Regions from separate parts of the Homo sapiens genome. Here all the other regions are linked to region 1. The links are contacts of gene promoters, found by promoter capture Hi-C in human tissues and cell types (Jung and others, 2019). All regions are on one chromosome and are shown on one strand. Each heading gives the region's core, a stretch centred on a gene start or on the middle of the fragment in contact. The rest is flanking DNA. Distances are from core to core; before and after follow the strand shown. Region 1 holds the start of TECTA (tectorin alpha). Region 2 has its middle 75 kb from the start of SC5D. Region 3 overlaps GRIK4 (glutamate ionotropic receptor kainate type subunit 4).

Evidence for each region. The method cuts DNA at HindIII sites, captures the fragments that hold promoters and counts their contacts. A contact is called where the count stands out against the background at its distance.
Region 2: a contact is called between a fragment that was not itself captured here and the fragment with the promoter of TECTA in region 1, in 2 of the 25 tissues and cell types used here (H1 embryonic stem cells and mesendoderm cells).
Region 3: a contact is called between a fragment that was not itself captured here and the fragment with the promoter of TECTA in region 1, in 2 of the 25 tissues and cell types used here (hippocampus and spleen).

Annotation. Positions count from the first base shown.
Region 1 is chr11:121,099,768-121,102,578 of GRCh38, forward strand. It overlaps TECTA (tectorin alpha), which reads left to right and starts at 1,476. Exons shown (of 24, transcript NM_005422.4): 1 at 1,476-1,675. All of the region lies in intron 7 of TBCEL-TECTA (TBCEL-TECTA readthrough), which reads left to right. The HindIII fragment of the contact is 17,013 bases long and covers 1-2,811 here.
Region 2 is chr11:121,216,308-121,219,118 of GRCh38, forward strand. No RefSeq gene overlaps it. Among named protein-coding and RNA genes, the nearest start is that of SC5D, 75 kb to the right of the region's middle. The HindIII fragment of the contact is 8,183 bases long and covers 1-2,811 here.
Region 3 is chr11:120,988,484-120,991,294 of GRCh38, forward strand. GRIK4 (glutamate ionotropic receptor kainate type subunit 4) reads left to right here. Exons shown (of 21, transcript NM_014619.5): 21 at 1-423. Among named protein-coding and RNA genes, the nearest start is that of TBCEL, 34 kb to the right of the region's middle. The HindIII fragment of the contact is 4,948 bases long and covers 1-2,811 here.

The sequences.
Region 1 (2,811 bases), core at 226-2,725:
TATCCGGGCAGCAGTCCTGTCTCAAGAAGGATGGAGCATCCAACATGGGTCAAAAGGGCTGTGATATAAATATCCTAGAATGCATGAAAAAGGAAGAAAGCAATTAGTATGCCACCAGCAGTTAATTAAAACACAGCCAGCGATTTTGCTTCAAGACATTTAGGTTGGCTACTGGACTAAAACCTAAGGCTGGACAAAGAGAATCCTTCTGTAATGAGTCTTTGATTTGAACTTAATTTTATTTTAAATAGGCACCCAAGAAACTAGCTTTTCTGTTATATAAATATACGCCATTCTAAGCACTCCTAGAATCCAAAGAAAAACAAATAAATGTGAGTCATTTGGAAAGAAGCAGTCATTTAACATCTGTAAGTAAATATGTGTGGAGGATTCATAATACCAGTGAGAGAATAAACAATGTGGGAAACCTACTGAATTATCACAGGTTTTTGGAAAAACACGGAGTAATTTAAACTAAAAAAATTTAGCTCGCCAAGCACTCTTGTCCATTTTAAGACAACATGCTTAAACCCAGAATTATATTTCTTTTGTACAGTTGGCATTTAAATGTCTGGTCAGAGAAAATTTGCAGTAATTTTTAAATTCCCATTGATGTGCAGAAGAGTTTTTTTTTCCTGCTACAGTCAAGTTACTTCTTTCTTAATAAATTCCATTTAAACATTTTGAATAGTAGATTTAGCTTATGCCTTAGCCAGTTTTGCTCATTCCACATCTACTGGATGCTTGGAAGCATCTAACCGAGCACGTTTTCCTCTTATTCACATGCCTTTTAAACTATTTACTTACTGCAAATTTTTTATCAGAAGGGGTTTATCTCCCCCCTCTGCCTCCAGTGACCCTCACTGGGTGTTAGGGAAGGTTTCCAGGCCACAGTTTGAGATTTCCCTTGTGGAAGATCGTGTCTAGCGCTAGGTCCCTTGTTAGATTTTGCCTGGAAAGTGCCCTGTCCTATCTCCTGCAGAGCGGTGCATCAGAGAGAAAAGAGAGGGCATAAAACCTAAAAAGTTTGGAAATTTTCTTTAAATACTTCATGCATACCTGTGAAAAAATAGAGTAGAGCCTATCTGTGGCGACTGTTGAAAACCAGAGAAACAAAAAAAGACTTTAATAGAAAACCAACTTCATTTAAATGTTGGAGGCAGCTGCTTTGTTTGGAGTTTTAATCCCATGCTGGTGGATGCTAATTCTGTAACATTATACAGTTGCCTTCTTTTGGGTACAAAGGTAGAAGGGGGGTTTTCTTTTGTGTTTTTCAGTGCAAAGTGATTCTGATCAGAAAGGCCCAAGGTTTCAGCTCCAAGTACCTGACATTTCCATCTGAATCTACTTTTTTTTTCAAAGGGGAAAAAAAAAGGTCTAGTTTTTCAGGAAAAGAACCTCTCTACGCAATCCTGAAACTGATCTTTAGATTTACTTTTCCTTAATCAATAGAAAAAAACTTGATTGCAGCTCAACACTTACCTGTCTCTAGTGCAGGACTAACTTAATTTTTGGTTTTAAGAGTACGAGATTCAGACATTATTTCAGGAATCAGAAATTATTGGCAACAAGTTGAGGAGAACTGACATGAATTCTTGTTTTACCTAATTTTTTCTGGCTTACCAAGATTTGGCTTAATATTTCTGACTCAGTTCCTCCAGCCTCTACAGAACAGGTTAGTGACATTTTTCATAAATACAAATATCTAAATGAATCCTCCTTACTTCTCTCTGAACCGGTTCCCTAAGGGCTCTAGTCTTAAACTTGCACGGCATCTTCTCCATTAAAGCTGTGTGTGATCTCTGCTAAACCTTTGTACCCTTTCCAGCAAAACTGTCTAATATTTAATATGTGCTTGAAATTACAACATATATACTTGACAACTAAAGATTTGCAATAAAACTCTCACAGGATAAATTCATTGCCTTTCCCGTGAAAGTTTGGCTGAAGAATTGTGATAACTTCAAATGATAAGAGGAAGGTTTTTCTTTTTTAAGAATACTGTCAGGAGGAGACTTCATGGTCTAGCCACACGCTTGGGTGATGTCTAACTTGAGCTTGCGTCCGTGTTCTCATCGCAGCTTTGCAGAGTGACACAGACAAAACATGCTCCTGATGGAGGGTAAAGCCACCATGCAACCGATTGTAAACTAACACGAAAACAAGTTTCTCTTTGCTGTGTTCCTTCTTTAATTAACTTGCTGGAACTAATTGGTTGCTTGTGCGCTGGATTCTATTTTTATTGTGATTCCAACTCTGGATTGGTCCTTTTTTATTACTAATGTTTCTATCATTCATTTCACTGTGGGAAGTCAGTGAACAGAGTAGACTGGCCCTGAATCTGGTCAATACTTCAAAATGATGGATCGGCTCCATTCTATGGAGAAGGTGATGGCAGACTCTAAATTCTCCTAGCTGTAGAACACATTGTGTTTTAACCAACTTTTGTTTGATTCTGATGGAAAGCTGTAGTGAAAATTAGGAAATCCAGGTCTCACTGGGGTGTGGTTTCTGCTGCAGAGACACAACCCGGGACCTGCATGCATCTTTAGCGTTGGGTCCTAGTTTTCAGCGCTTTATTTGATGCAGAGGGGATACCTTTCCTTTACGCATACCACTCTCACTGATCCTAAATAATTACTTGACAGTTTGAATGATCTCATTACACTTCCAGACTGGCTTCTTCTGGGCATCTAATTTGTTCATGAAGTGTTGAACTTCGGAGGACCTGCCAGCATTCAGGGGATTTCAGCCCGACTCAGCACTGTTGATGTTGTTATGTGAATTTGTTCTATGACGGTTTTGATGGTC
Region 2 (2,811 bases), core at 181-2,680, 120 kb after region 1:
AAGTTCTTCAAAACATTAAAAACAGAACTTCCATATGATTCAGTAATCCCATTAGTAAGTGTATATCCAAACAAAATGAAATTATGATCTTGAAAAAATCCACACTTGCATGTTTATTTTAGCATTATTCATAATAGTTAAGATATGGACACAACCTAAATGTCCCTCAATGGATTAATGAATAAAGAAAATGTGGAACTACACATGCAAATATGCACACACACAAACACACACACACATATATACACAGAGAAATATTTTTCAGCTTAAAAAAAATCTTGGGTGTGGAGGGAGACAAATGCAAATATGTTAGGCAAGTAGTGCAAAGTTTCTGTTATGTGGGATGAATATGTTCTGGACATCTAATGTACAGCAATGTGAGTACAATTAACAATACTTTATTGTATACTTAAAATTTACTAAGGGTAGATTGAAAATAAAAGTAATAATGGAAGACATAAACAAATGGAAAAACACTCCATGCTCATGGATTGAAAGAATCAATATTGTTAAAATATCCATACTGCTCAAAGCAATATATAGATTCAATGCAATCTCTATTAAATCTCAACATCATGCTTCACAGAATTAGAAAAAACAATTCCAAAGTTCTTATGGAACCAAAAAAGGGCCCAAATAACCAAAGCAATCCTAAGCAAAAAGAACAAAGCTGGAGGCATCACATTACCTGACTTCAAGCTATACTACAAGGCTACAGTAACAAAAATAGCATGGTACTGGTACAAAAATAGACACATGGATCAATGGAGACTCTTGAAATAAAACCACACATCTACAACCAAACGATATTTGACAACATGGGCAAAAATAAAGAAATGGGAAAGGACACTCTATTCAATAAACAGTACTGGGAAAACTGGCTAACCATATGCAAAAGAATGAAACTTGACCTCTTTATACAAAAAAAATTACTCAAGATGGACTAAAGACTTAAATGTAAGACCTCAAATTATAAAAATTCTAGAAGAAAACCTAGGAAATACTCTTCTGGACATTTGCCTAGGCAAATAATTTATGACTAAGTCCTCAAAAGTAAATGCAACAAAATCAAAAATTGATAAAGAGACCTAATTAAACTAAAGCACTTCTGCACAGGAAAAAAAAAAAAAGCAACCTATCAACGTAGGAAACAGATAATCTACAGAGTGGGTGAAAATATTTGCAAACTACGCATCCAACAAATGACTAATATCCAGAATCTACAAGGAACTTAAACAAATTAACAAGAAAAAAAATAACCCATTTAAAAGCAGGCAAAAGACAAAAACAGGCACTTGTCAAAGGAAGACATACAAACAGCCAATAAACATATGAAACAATGGTCATTATAACTAATCATCAAAGAATGCAAATCAAAACCAAAATATGATATCATCTCACACCACTCAGAATGGTTATTATTAAAAAAGTAAAAAAAAAAAAACACAAATTAACAGGGGTTGAGAGGTTGTGGAGAAAACAGAATGCTTATACACTGTTGGTGGGACTGTAAATTAGTTCGGCCCTTATGGAAAACAGTTTGGAGATTTCTCAAAGAACTAAAAATAGAATTACCATTCAACCCAGCAATCCCATTACTGGGTATATACCCCCAGAAAATAAATCTTTCTAATAAGAAGATGTCTGTGCTTGCATGTTCACTGCAGCACTATTTGCAATAGCAAAGACATGGAATCAACTTTGGCGGCCATCAGTGGTAGACTGGATGAAGAAAATGTGGTACATACACGCCATGGAATACTATGCTTCCACAGGAGAAAGTGAAATCATGCCCTTTGCAGCAACATGGATGCAATCAGAGGCCATTATCCTAAGTGAATCGACACAGAAACAGAATACCAAATACTGCATGTTCTCACTTATAATTGGAAGCTAATCACTGGGTACACATGGACATATAGATGGGAATGATAGACATCCAGGACTCCAAAAGAGGGGAAGGAGAGAGGGAGGGCTGAATAACTACCTGTCACATACTATGTTCACTATCTGGGTGACAGTTTCAGTTGAAGCCTAAACCTCAGCATCACACAATATATCCATGTTAGTAACCTGAACATGTACCCCCTAAATCTAAAATATTAAAAAAAAATTTTTTAAACATAGAAAATCAAAGCTTAAAAAAAGACTATAAAGATGACATCAGTGAAAATGACAGAGTAAGGACCCCCCCAAAACTCTATCCTCCATAAAAGCAATGAGCACACTGGCAAAATTGTCAGAGTCAACTTTTTCAGAATTTTAGAAATTAATCAAAGGCTTGAAGCCATCAGGGAGCATTTTTTTTTTTCAAGAAAAAATGGTTGAATCTTGGTAAGAACAATGAGCCTCATGACATTCCAATTGCCATTTCCCTTCCCAGTTTCTGGCTATAGGGTAGCCACAAAAATCAATGGCCCACAATAATGGTTAAAACCAGTAGCCTGACAGCCACTGGAGGTAGCAGAAAGGGGCTAGTGTTCCTTCAAAGCACAATAGGATAACCAAAAAGCTGGAGGAAAAAGGCAAGGTGTGAAATGTCTACATGGGGCTTAAAAATGCTCTGACATATTCCTGGGAATCTAGAAGGCCACACAGAAGCAAAGGATTGTGCACAAGCCCAGAGCTCTGCAAGTGCTCAGGAAAGATCTGAGCGAGTGCTAAGTTCTTACCTCTGGCTCGCCCCATGCAAGTAAGAAGTGAAGCCAAAATAGAGCAGAGTACCTGGTTGAGCATTGAAGGCATGCCCTAACACACACAGAGCCCTCTTGCAAAGAGGCTTAATGGTTCCAGGCATCTAAGGAAATCTCT
Region 3 (2,811 bases), core at 129-2,628, 110 kb before region 1:
GGATTAGTGAAATAAATGTCCCCATGCATCATTTATAGTCTGTTTCTTTCTCCGTGTGGAATCAAGATAAGACTGCCAGCACTAGACGGTTTCTGTTAGCTGCTGAGACCAGGGCCTCACCTTGCTCAAGCTAGTGGGTGAATTTGCAACCAGCTAATACTCTTCCTTGGTTTGTTTCCACTTTTTATCTGTTGGTTGTTGGCTTTCTTTTCCATTCTGTATTTTCTATCTGACTCTGTATACTGTATAAAGCAGTTTTTTCTTGTCTGTTTATCTTTCTTCAACTGGAATATTTACAATAAAACAGAAACAAATCCTGAAATGTTAGTGATGGATGACAGCTGTTTGGGTTTAGAAAGTATGGTTCAGTGTGTCTAATATCCAGGTACTAGACTTGAAAAGCAAATAAAATCATAAACCCACTTTTTGTCTTCCCCTCCACCTGCCCTCTCTGTCTCCTTCTCTCCACCTCCCTCTCTACTCCCCCACCCGCTTTGGCTCTTTGTTCAGATCCCAGAAAAGTCTAGGTGGCTTCTTTCAATTTTTAGTCCTAGGAGCCTGAGCCAATCCACCCCCCCATCCCCAAAAGCGGATACATATGTTAATGAAGTTCAGGATTCCTAGGGTTTTGTCTTCCTAAATGCACTTTCACAGAATAGTCATCTATTGATACCTAGGGTAACTCTAGTCAGATATCACCCCAGATTCCACTGGGAGCTTGAAGATTACATCAATTAAAATATAATACTTTGCTTTATTTCTTTTAATTGCTTTGCAGGGCCCCAACCGTCACAAGATCTCACCTCAGAAACCAGGTAGAGTGTAAGTTGAGCACGGAGAGGGCCGAAAATCTTTTGGCTTCCTCTAATCCACTGCTCATATGAGAATATTCTTCCTGGGAACTTGCCAGCCAGCTCTCTTATTGGTTAGGTGAGACTGAAATATCATGATAACCAATCCACCTGGGGCCACTCTGTGAAAGTTTCTTAGTTTTGGATTCCAAGGAGCTTAATTTTCTTTTGGAATCCAAGGGGGAACTTCCCCATGTTGTAGGAGTCAAGTACACAAGGCCAGAAAAGGGCTGGGGCATTTCAGCAACACCAGATTGGTGGTTTGAGAGAAGCTTGAGAGACTCATTTGTGGCCCTCCCACCAATGGGGTGTTCACAGCAAGGTAAAACAGTCTGGAAATGATAAGGGAGATTTGAGTGCCTGACTAGTTGTCAGCTCTCTCGGGGTAATAACGAAGAGGCCTGTTTGGAAAATTCAGAGAAGGAATCCTTTCATAAAGATTTTGCTTATAGCTAGTGCTTCCTATGGGGCCTTCTCAAAGAGAAATTAAAGCACCATGAGTAATTCCTTTGCCTTTCGGTGAATGGTGACTTTCTCCCCACAGGCAGGTCCCCACAGTGGCCAAACAGAGAGTGCCCTCAGGAACTGACAACCTGCCCATCCTAAGGTTTGCCTCAAAGGCTGGGGATAGCATGCTCTCCTAAGACTTTTCCCATAGGGGAAAAAGTTGTTACTGGGTGTGGCTTCCAAAGGAAAAAAAAAAACTCCGAATTTTAGAGCCTACATGGTCAACAAGCTTCTTGTAATTTGAGGGCAATCAAGCAAGAGAAGTTCCGCCACTACCGTAAGAACATTATCATTCAAGTTTTATGAATTTCATACCAATTTCCAAATCTGGAGAATGAATTAAACAAATACGAATGTTACCATTCAACAAACAGCAGAACTAATGCTGAGATCAAGAAAGAAAGAAGTCTATGAAGGCAACGAAGTAAAAAATAAGCTCTCTACCAGAAGTGGCAGAAAATTGAGGCCCCAAGAAGGGTCATAAAAAAATTGAGCATATACTATAGCTGTAGGTTAACTAAGCATATGCATATAAATATTTCACTCACCAGGATTTACCGAAGCATGTCAGTGCATTGTGACTGATGGTGTACCTACTGGGGACTTGATCCTATTTACAAGTTAGACTAGATACAGATGATGGATGACAAATCCCTCCATCATCTGTATCTAGGGCAAAAGATCCTCCTGTAGAAAATTAGCTGAAGATCCTGCCCATTCTTCAGTATGCCTTGTGACCAATCAAGTGTTGTCTCTTGGTTGTCAGGGAACACTGGCACTTTTCCATAGATTGGTGAGTGACCTGGAGAGGGTATTTACCTAGCACCCAGCACCACATTAGATCTTGCCAGAAATGAGACATAGAAGCAGTGATCTATACTCTGCTTGAAGGAAAAAACTAACTTTACCTGTAAGAAACTGAAAAAAAAAATCACACAAAATATAACAATAAAAGTGCTACAGTGTGTGGTTTGGAATATTAACCATGTAGAAATTCAGAGGAGCTCAAGATTCTAAGTAGTTAAAAGAGCAAAGGAAGGCTGGGTGGAGGAAGCAGGACTGTTTGTGTGTTTGGGTTGTTAATTAATTAATTTATTTTTTTGATGTCTGGGAAATAAGATCTTGCTCATTGCCCTTGGAGTGAAATATGGTTAATTCATGTTGATGAATTCAGCACCCCTCTGATGAAAGATAGTTTGTTGTAGCTGTTGTTTTGTTTTCACCCAGTTCGTCCCTTTTTGAGGAATTCTGGCTCTCAAACGATGCTTCTTCCTGTTTGCTGCCAACACTAGAGATTCTCACCAATGTCTCATCCCTTGGCTTCTTTAAGTTGTATTAGTGGAATCAGCTGCAGATACAAACAGCCTAGCCCTACAGAATACAGAAAGGCTAACTGAAACAAGCAATGAAACTGTCTGAAGTGGATTGGGAGCTCTTTTCAGAAAAAAAAAAG